2 separate regions of the Homo sapiens genome follow, and region 2 is linked to region 1. The links are contacts of gene promoters, found by promoter capture Hi-C in human tissues and cell types (Jung and others, 2019). All regions are on one chromosome and are shown on one strand. Each heading gives the region's core, a stretch centred on a gene start or on the middle of the fragment in contact. The rest is flanking DNA. Distances are from core to core; before and after follow the strand shown. Region 1 holds the start of CST3 (cystatin C). Region 2 overlaps NAPB (NSF attachment protein beta).

Evidence for each region. Contacts are between HindIII fragments. The study calls those that stand out against the background at their distance.
Region 2: a fragment that was not itself captured here is called in contact with the fragment with the promoter of CST3 in region 1 in 2 of the 25 tissues and cell types used here (adrenal gland and dorsolateral prefrontal cortex).

Annotation. Positions count from the first base shown.
Region 1 is chr20:23,635,930-23,640,374 of GRCh38, reverse strand. It overlaps CST3 (cystatin C), which reads left to right and starts at 2,420. Exons shown (of 3, transcript NM_000099.4): 1 at 2,420-2,755. The coding sequence starts at 2,513. RefSeq lists silencers at 2,266-2,605, 2,636-2,885. The HindIII fragment of the contact is 14,575 bases long and covers 1-4,445 here.
Region 2 is chr20:23,413,245-23,417,689 of GRCh38, reverse strand. The region is part of intron 1 of NAPB (NSF attachment protein beta); the gene reads left to right. Among named protein-coding and RNA genes, the nearest start is that of NAPB, 6.0 kb to the left of the region's middle. The HindIII fragment of the contact is 6,970 bases long and covers 1-4,445 here.

The DNA.
Region 1 (4,445 bases), core at 1,171-3,670:
CCAGGTCCGCAGCATCCCAAGCTGGGGACTTTGTCACCCCACAGGGCACCCAGCTGATCAGGTCCTCTCAGTCTGGGGAGAAGAACTCACAATCCTGGCAATGAAGGAACTCAGGGCCCACTGGAAAGCCACACTGAGCAAAGGACAAAGACACACCCAGGCTTGCTCTGCAGGACTCCATTTCTGGGAAGCTCAAGGACAGGCGACAAACGAGTCTATAGGGCAGGATGGGGGCTGCCAGGGCAGGATGGGCATGAGGGTGAGCTGCAGAGGCAGGAGGACACACCGTCTGGGGCAAGGCAGATGTCACAGGTCTGGACAAAGTGGTAACACGGGTATATGCGTTAATGAAATCCCCCAGATTAGACATTTTGTTGTCTATAAATTCTACCTCACTCACAGTGATGTTCTAAACTCAGGTGAGTTTTCCAAGCAGTGCAGAGGACCAGCGCCAGCAGCATGACGCCCAGAGGGGAGGAGCAAGAGACACCCGTGGGCTCCCACATTCATCCTGTGGCTGCTGCTCCCTCTCCTGACACCCCCACTGCCTGCCAATGGGTCTCACTGCACCTTCCACCCGGCCCCACCCACAGTTACCATGAGACTCCAGATCGTTCCCTTCCCTGCTCACACTCCCTCCAGGAGCTTCCTCTTCCTGGAGCAGGCATGCCCAGCCCCGCCTCAGGGCCTTTGCACTGGCCCTTCCCGCTGCCTGGGGCTGTTTCCTGTCTAGGCAGGGCTTCTCACCTTTCCAGTCTCATAGAGTCCTCCCTGACCAGGTCCAGTGGCATCATCTCTCTCTATCCCATACTCTCACTTCCAACAGAGAGACTAATTTCCTGATATTAATTATTGATCACTATTCGCCATCCTCCCACACACCCTAATGCTGGGCTGTGCAGTGCCACAGCCACCAGCCACATGTGGCCACAGGGTGCTTGAAATGGGGCCAGTACAATTGACACCCACATACACAGGGAATTTCAAAGACTCAGTACACACACCCAAAATAAAATAACCTATGTTATTAATGATTCTTCTTATGTGTTGAAATAATATTTTGGATATATTAGGTTAAGTAAGAAATATTATAAACATTACCTTCACCTGTTTCTTTTTTACTTTTTGAAATGTGTCTCCCAGAAAGTTTTAAATTGCTCCTGGGTTCGTGTCACATTTCTGTCTGGCAGCAGCCCTGCAATGTAGTGTCCATGGCTCGGTCACCCAGGCTCCGTCTCTAGCTCCTAGACTACCTGGTGCAGGGGGAAGCTGGTGAAAAGTCTGTTTACTGAATAATGAGTTGTGAAAGGAGAACCCAGAGTTTTTTACTCAAATAAAGGTTAATTCTTCTGTTTGAAAAGTTCCCTAGCACAGGGCATGGCCTGAGTCTCCTGTGGCCTCTGGAATCACACCTCTGCCTTAGTGATTTCTAGACCTTGACCAAATGCTCACGGATACTCAGGACCTCTGAAGACTCCGGAAGGCCGAGACCTCTATCTTTCCCTTTTCTGAGGAAATGAAGCTAGGGGGTCGTATGCTTTTAGGGCCCAGGGGGCCTTGACACCTCTCTGGAGGGCAGGGTGACCTAAGCTTGGGAGGAGGGACAGGTCTTTGGGAAGAGATGGAGCTGAGGGGGTGGAGTGGGTAGAAGGGGGGCATAGGTGTGGAAGGGGTGGGGGAAGAGGGGCCAGGAGTGGGGTGAGAAGAGGGGAAAGAAGAGGATAGGAGGGACAGGGACAGGGAGAGGCCAGGAATGGGTAGGAAGGGAAGACAGAGGAGGGGCGGGACGAGGGAGGGGCGATGAAGAGGGGCCGAGCTGGGGTGGGGGCGAAGTGGGAGCAAGGACAGGAGTGGAGGAGGGAGATGAGGGGCATGGGAGGCGGTGTCTGGGGGTTGAAAGGGGAAAGGGACAGAGGAGAAGGAGCCTGAAGAGTGGCGGCATGGAGGGGCCCGAAGTGGGGAGGTGGGAATGGTCGGATGGATGGGGAGGAATGGGGAGGATAGGAGAGGCAGGGGAGGCTGGAAGACAGTAGGAGAGGAGGGGGAGGGGAGGGGAGGGGATGGATGGGAATGGATAGGGAAGGCCAGGGAGACTGGGGGGCCAGGGGAGGAGGGGAGGGAGAGGGGAGGCGGGAAGGGAGAGGAGAGGCCGGGAGGGGCTGGGAGGGGAGGGAAGGGGATGGATGGGGAAGGACAGGGAAGCCTGGAGGGGCAGGGGAGGCTGGGATGGGAGGAGACTGATAGGGAGGGACCTGGAGGCGGGGAGAGGCAGGGGAGGCGGGGAGAGGCAGGGGAGGCGGGGAGGGAGAAGGGAGGTGGGAGGGACGAGGCGTTCCGGAAAAGGGAGTGCAGGCCGCGGTGGGGTGGGGCGGCGAAGGCCGGAAGGGATAAAACCGCAGTCGCCGGCCTCGCGGGGCTCACGGCCTCGCCTCGGTATCGCAGCGGGTCCTCTCTATCTAGCTCCAGCCTCTCGCCTGCGCCCCACTCCCCGCGTCCCGCGTCCTAGCCGACCATGGCCGGGCCCCTGCGCGCCCCGCTGCTCCTGCTGGCCATCCTGGCCGTGGCCCTGGCCGTGAGCCCCGCGGCCGGCTCCAGTCCCGGCAAGCCGCCGCGCCTAGTGGGAGGCCCCATGGACGCCAGCGTGGAGGAGGAGGGTGTGCGGCGTGCACTGGACTTTGCCGTCGGCGAGTACAACAAAGCCAGCAACGACATGTACCACAGCCGCGCGCTGCAGGTGGTGCGCGCCCGCAAGCAGGTGCGTGCCGCCCCCCGCAGGGTCCGAAGCCCCGGCCCCGCCGTCCCAGCCTCCCCCCGCGCTGCTCCCGGACCCCGTGCTGCTCCTCTCCGGCGCCTGGGCTTCTCACCCGGACCCTGTTCCCGGTCTTCGCTGTCACCCCCGAGCCCTTGGCGGGCGTGTCCGGGAATGCCCTGAGTCTGGCCTGGCCTGGAACCGCACGGACACGTCAGGTCCGCGCCCGGCGCCTAAGATCAGCTTCCAGGAGCCAGCTCGAGCTGCGCCGCAGCGCGGGGGCAGGCACAGGACGTCCCACACAGCTCTGTCCCGACCTCCTGGGACGCTGGGCTCCGGGTGCGCTGCTGAATACGCAGGAGAAGGAAAAACAGAGCCCCTCATCTGGCTGCCTCCTTGTTCTTCCACCAAATAATTTTTAAGCACTTTTGTTTCTTTTAACTTTTTATTCTCCCGTAATTTCAGACTTACAGAGCAGCTGCAAAATAGCACAGGGCATCCCTGTAGATCTTTCACCCAGATCCCTCAGATGTTAGCACAGATGTTAACATTTTGCCCTGTTTGTTCCCCCCAGCTCACTTTCCGAATGTGAATATGGGTGTGTGTATATGTACTGTATATGCATTTTTTGCCTGAATCTTTTGAAAGTAAACACTTCAGTGTGTTTTTCCTAAAAACAAGGGCAATATCGCACATAATCACTATTCCATTTTGAAAATCAGCACTGACACATTCATGATCTAATGCTCAGACTCATTCAGCTTTCCCTGTCTGTTGACGGCCTTCGTGCCCTAGGACGCTCCTGGGCCATGAGTGCATGAGTTCAGCCCTGTCCTGTCCCCTCGGCCTCTTTTAACCTGCAGCAGCAGCTGGGTCTGTGCCACGACCGTGCCATTTCCCAGGGTCTAGCAGGTGTGGATGGAGACTATGCTGACTCTGGGTGGGCTTGATGCTGCTCAAGATGAGATCTAGGCCATGCGGCTCATCCTCCTCCCAGAATACTCTCCGCAGGGGCCACACGTGAGCCTGGCACCTTGTCCTGCAGAGCCCTGCTTCCCTCCCCAAGTCACACCCCTGGGCACAGTCCCCTAGGACTAGCGGCCTTCACCCTCAGGCCGGCTGACCACCCCCTACATCCCAGGGCAGCTGAGTCCCTGCTGGGGTGGAGCATGCCTGACCCTGCCTCTATCAGCTGATGCAGAGTTAGACCTCAGCCAGATGAAGACACCCAGCAGACCGGAGTAGGGGGTCGGATCGGGAGGGAGCTTCAGTAGGGCTACCAGGCCCAGCTTGACCTGCATCCCATGGCAGAGCAGCGAACAGTGACACAGACTTTAGAGCTCCTCCACCTTCTCTTGGAAATTCAGAGGAGTCCAGACCAGCCGCGTTTCTCCCGCAGCCGTCAGCTGGGGCCCTCTCCCTGCACAGGAGGGCCATTCCCTGGTGTAGGGTCCCCGCTGGCCTGCACCTCTCTCTCACTGGGAGTGAAGCATGGGGCATTGTAGATCGTTGGGCCCTGGAGCCTATTTTACAGAGGAGCAGACTGACACCAGAGGGATCACAGGCCTTGCTTGTGCTTCTACAGGACTTGTGTGTGGTTCCACAGGGCAAGGTCTAGCACCCTGGTCCCAGGGTCCCTCATCCCATGCTTCTCCACAGTTCTGACAAGTCATGTTTTGGGGCGGCACTGTGCAGG
Region 2 (4,445 bases), core at 905-3,404, 220 kb after region 1:
AATTAAAACTTTTTCTCAAGTTTGTAGTATAGTACGTTTAGTAAAACTACTTCCAAAGGAGTTGTCTTGTCCTTTAGTTTGTTGCCAGGGATGAGCTATGGAATTTTGTAGTTAATTTCAAATTCCAGTTTATAATGTTAATGAACTACTGGTATGATTTTAAATCGGCCTGAGTCTGACATTAAGATAGTTTTGAATTGGAAAAGCCTCTTATAATACTATCCCCTCCATCTTGTTGCTATGAGACCCGGTTGGGAATAACCTGCACAATGCACATAGAAGAAAGTGCTTAAGACTGACAGTGGAGGCCAGGTGCAGTGGCTCACGCCTGTAATCCCAGCACTCTGGGAGGCCGAGGCGGGTGGATCACTTGAGGTCAGGAGTTTGAGACCAGCCTAGCCAACATGATGAAACCCCGTCTCTACTAAAAATACAAAAATTAGCCTGGCGTGGTGGCGGGCGCCTGTAATACCAGCTACTTGGTAGGCTGAGGCAGGAGAATCACTTGAACCTTGGAGGTGGAGGTTGTAGTGAGCTGAGATTGTGCCACTGCACTCCAGCCTGGGCCCCCGAGCGAGACTCCGTCTCAAAAAAAAAAAAAAAAAAGAATGCCAGTGGAAAGATGTTCTTTATGGTTAATGCTGTCTTCCTTTGCCTTTCAGTGTTTAGTCTGAGTTTACACAAGAGCTACAAATTTGGCAATGTCAATGTAAATTTAATGAAAGGCCCCATTGGGTTATCTTGAAATAATTATGAATCTATAATTTGTTGGTTGTTTGTGAAAATTGTGAATATTTCTTAAGCATTGTAGACTGTAAATTATCAGTATTCTTCACTTGTGTTTATTTCAACAAAGATTGCTTTTAAGTTTGGCCAAAATATGGTGGGGCCATGTGATAACATAGGTGAAGCATTTAGGTTTTCCTCAGTTACAATTCTTGTTCAAATGCAGATTGAACTTTTAAAAAAATTATTAGGCTCAGGTTTACTGACAGAGACAGGTGATACAGTATAAGAAATATATACGTATATTTGTGTATCTTTCTCAAAAGAAATCGATTATAAATTGAACAATTATTTTTATAAATTATATAATATACGTAAGAAATATAATTATATTATTATTCATGGGGAGACCAGGTAGAGGCTCAAGTTCTCTCATTTACTATTTTGGTGACTATAGTCAAGTAAATCATACTCAGAACTTGTTTTTTTTAGTTTTCAGATGGGCAGAGAGACAGAATCTGTTTTTCACGATTGTTAAGGATTGAATGAGGTCAGAATGCTTATTCAGTTGCACAGAGCTATATAACTTTATTATAATTGTTTGGTTTTCTGATTTTAGGTTGTTACAGCTTGGTATCAAATGATAAACTGTTACCAGACTGGCCTTTTTCTTGTTGCATTTTTGCAGTTTTCTCCACATATTCTTTCATTCTTGTGAGCTCTGTGAGGTGCAGTTACTCTGGAGAGAGGGAGGGCCAGTAATCATATGTGGCTCCTTGGAAGTCTGCCTGTTTTGTTGCTGTGGCTAACACCTCACCCAGCCTGAGGCATGCGTTAGGCACGTGGTAAATATTGGTGGAGAGAATGAATGTATTAATGCTAATACAAATGCTGATGTTTTTTCTTTTATTCTTACCTAGTTTTCAAGAGCAAAGCTATACCAAGTAAAGGAGAGTTTAAGTCGCTTTCTTCCGTTTTATTTATGTATTTATTTTTTTGAGACGAGCTCTCACTCTGTTGCCTAGGCTGGAAGGCAGTGGCGAGATATCTGCTCACTTCAACCTTGACCTCCTGAGCTCAAGAGATCCTCCCACCTCAGCCTCCCAAGTAGCTAGGACTACAGGCATGCACTACCATGCCTGACTAATTTTGTATTTTTTGTAGAGACAGGGTCTTGCTATGTTGCCCAGGCTTGTCTCCAACTCCGGGACTCAAGCGATCTGCTCTGCTGACCTCAGCCTCCCAAAGTGCTGCGATTACAGGTGTTAGCCACTGTACTAGGCATTTTATTTAAATATTTGCTTATTATGAACATTGTAGCTGTACACGGTAGAAAAGTACAAGGAGTACAGAGAGTTTTCTTTTTTTTTGAAATGGAGTCTTGCTCTGTTGCCCAGGCTGGAGTGCAGTGGCATGATCTTGGCTCACTGCAACCTCTGCCTCCTGGGTTCAAGTGATTCTGCTGCCTCAGTCTCCTGAGTAGCTTGGATTACAGATGGGTGCCACCACACCCAGCTAATTTTTGTATTTTTAGTAGAGACAGGGTTTCACCATGTTGGCCAGGCTGGTCTTGAACTTCTGACCTCATGATCCGTCCACCTCGGCCTCCCAAAGTGCTGGAATTACAGGCATGAGCCACCGTGCCCAGCGCAGAGAGTTTTCAGTTGAAAAGTAAAGTTCTCTGAGTCTTCTTTTTACGTAATCTCACTCCCAAGAAGCAACCATTTTTAACTTTCTCATTAGTTTTTCTGATGGTTACCACCATATTTCTAAATAATTTTAGAGCACTTCTACTTCCTGATATCTTGATTTTCAGACAGTATCTGTTGATTTTGCTAAAAATGATGAAAAATTTATTATAACTTACATGGTCTTACATTTTCCCCTTTACCTCCTCATTTTACTTAGTTATGTCTCAATCTCTATTACCTTTTATATATAAACAGCATATTTAAATCTTAATTCATGTATGAATTAATGCTGAATAATTAAGCTAATCAAAATATTATACTTAAAATTTTTTTAATATATTTTTCTATTTTTGTGAGTTATGGAGTCAAAGAGAATATATTGTCCAAATTGTGATATTTTTGAGATACTAATAAAATGGGTACAAGTCAAGCATATCTATGCAATGAGGACACAGAATCACCCTAGTTACAGACTTCATATACTCTTCTTAGATTTTCACATTGTGTTTATCTGATTGGTTATAAAATCAGTAAAGCTTTTGTACCTTCAAAGAATTTTCAGTGACTAATAAAGTTCACAGTAAGGAAACTTGGAAGTAGAGTTTCAGAATGTTAACTATTTCTGTATTTAAGTGGAACTTATAAGTAATAACAAAATCTAATAAGTCAATACTTCCTTGAATTAAGGTATATTTTTTCATGGTGAGGACTTGTCTGTCAATTCCAGTTTTAGTCCGTGTATTCATTAGGGATTAGTGTTGTATTTTGAAGGCCTTTTTGAATATCTGCGGAGATAAACATTTTTCTCCTTAAGAGTTATTATATGTTAATTAGTAAATATGAGGCCTCGTATTGTACTGTCCTCGCACTCCTGGAGTAAACCTCTCAGGATTATAATATATTTTTAAATGTAGATTCCATTTTTATTTTTATTTATTTGTTTATTTTTTTGCGACAGGGTCTCACTTTGTTGACCAGGCTGGAGTGCAGTGATGTGCTCATTACTCACTGCAACCTCCGCCTCCCAGGCTTAAGTGATCCTCCCACCTCAGCCTCCTCAGCAGCTGGGATTACAGGCACAGGCCACCATGCCCAGCTAATTTTTGTATTTTTATTAGATATGGGGTTTCACCATATTGGCTAGGCTGGTTTCAAACTCCTGGGCTCAAATGATCTGCCTGGTTGGTCTCCCACAGGGCTGGGATTACAGGCATGAGCCACTGTGCCTGGCCTAGATTCTGTTTTTACATACATGATTTAGGATTGTTTTATCTACAATTCATTTGTATATAGCTTTACTTTATCAGCTTGAAGTATTGCTGTTACAGGTGCCTCCTAAAAATAATGTGGATGTTTTTCTTTTTTTTTTTTTGGACTCTGGTCTTTGAAGATTTAAGAATATACCACAGTGAAACCATTGGGGCTTTTGATGGGTATTTCTTTGATAACTTTCTTGTTTTTGTCTCTGGAGTTTGTAATGTTTAAATTTTCTATCTCTACTGAGGTCAATTTTGGTAAATTGTGTTTTCCTAGGAAATAATTCATTTTATCTAAGTTTTAAAAAATGTATTTGCATTGTGCATAGTAGTCTTTTCTGACTTTTAAAAATGTTCTGTTTTAGTAATTTTCTTCTGTCACTTTATTTTTGTGTTTGTGTTTTTCCCCTTTTTTCCTTGATTCTTTTTCTCTAAACAACCAATATTTTGATTGATTTGTTCTACTGGTTTTGTGTTTTCTGTCTTACTGACTTATACTTTTATCTTTATTGCTTTCTTTGGCTTCTTTTGTTTTTCCCTCTGGTTCATTTTTCTAGGGAGGTGTTTATTCACTGTTTTCATTGCTTTATTTGTATGGATTAAAATATTCATGGCTATACATTTTTTTCTTAAAACTGCTTCAGTTGTATTTTATAGATCCTGTTACATAATGTTTTTATCTTAGTTTGTTTCCCCTTTGTTGCAAGAGGCTTTTATTGTAAGGGTTTTATTCCAGGTAGAAAGAATGGCCTTTCTTTGTATATTATTACTT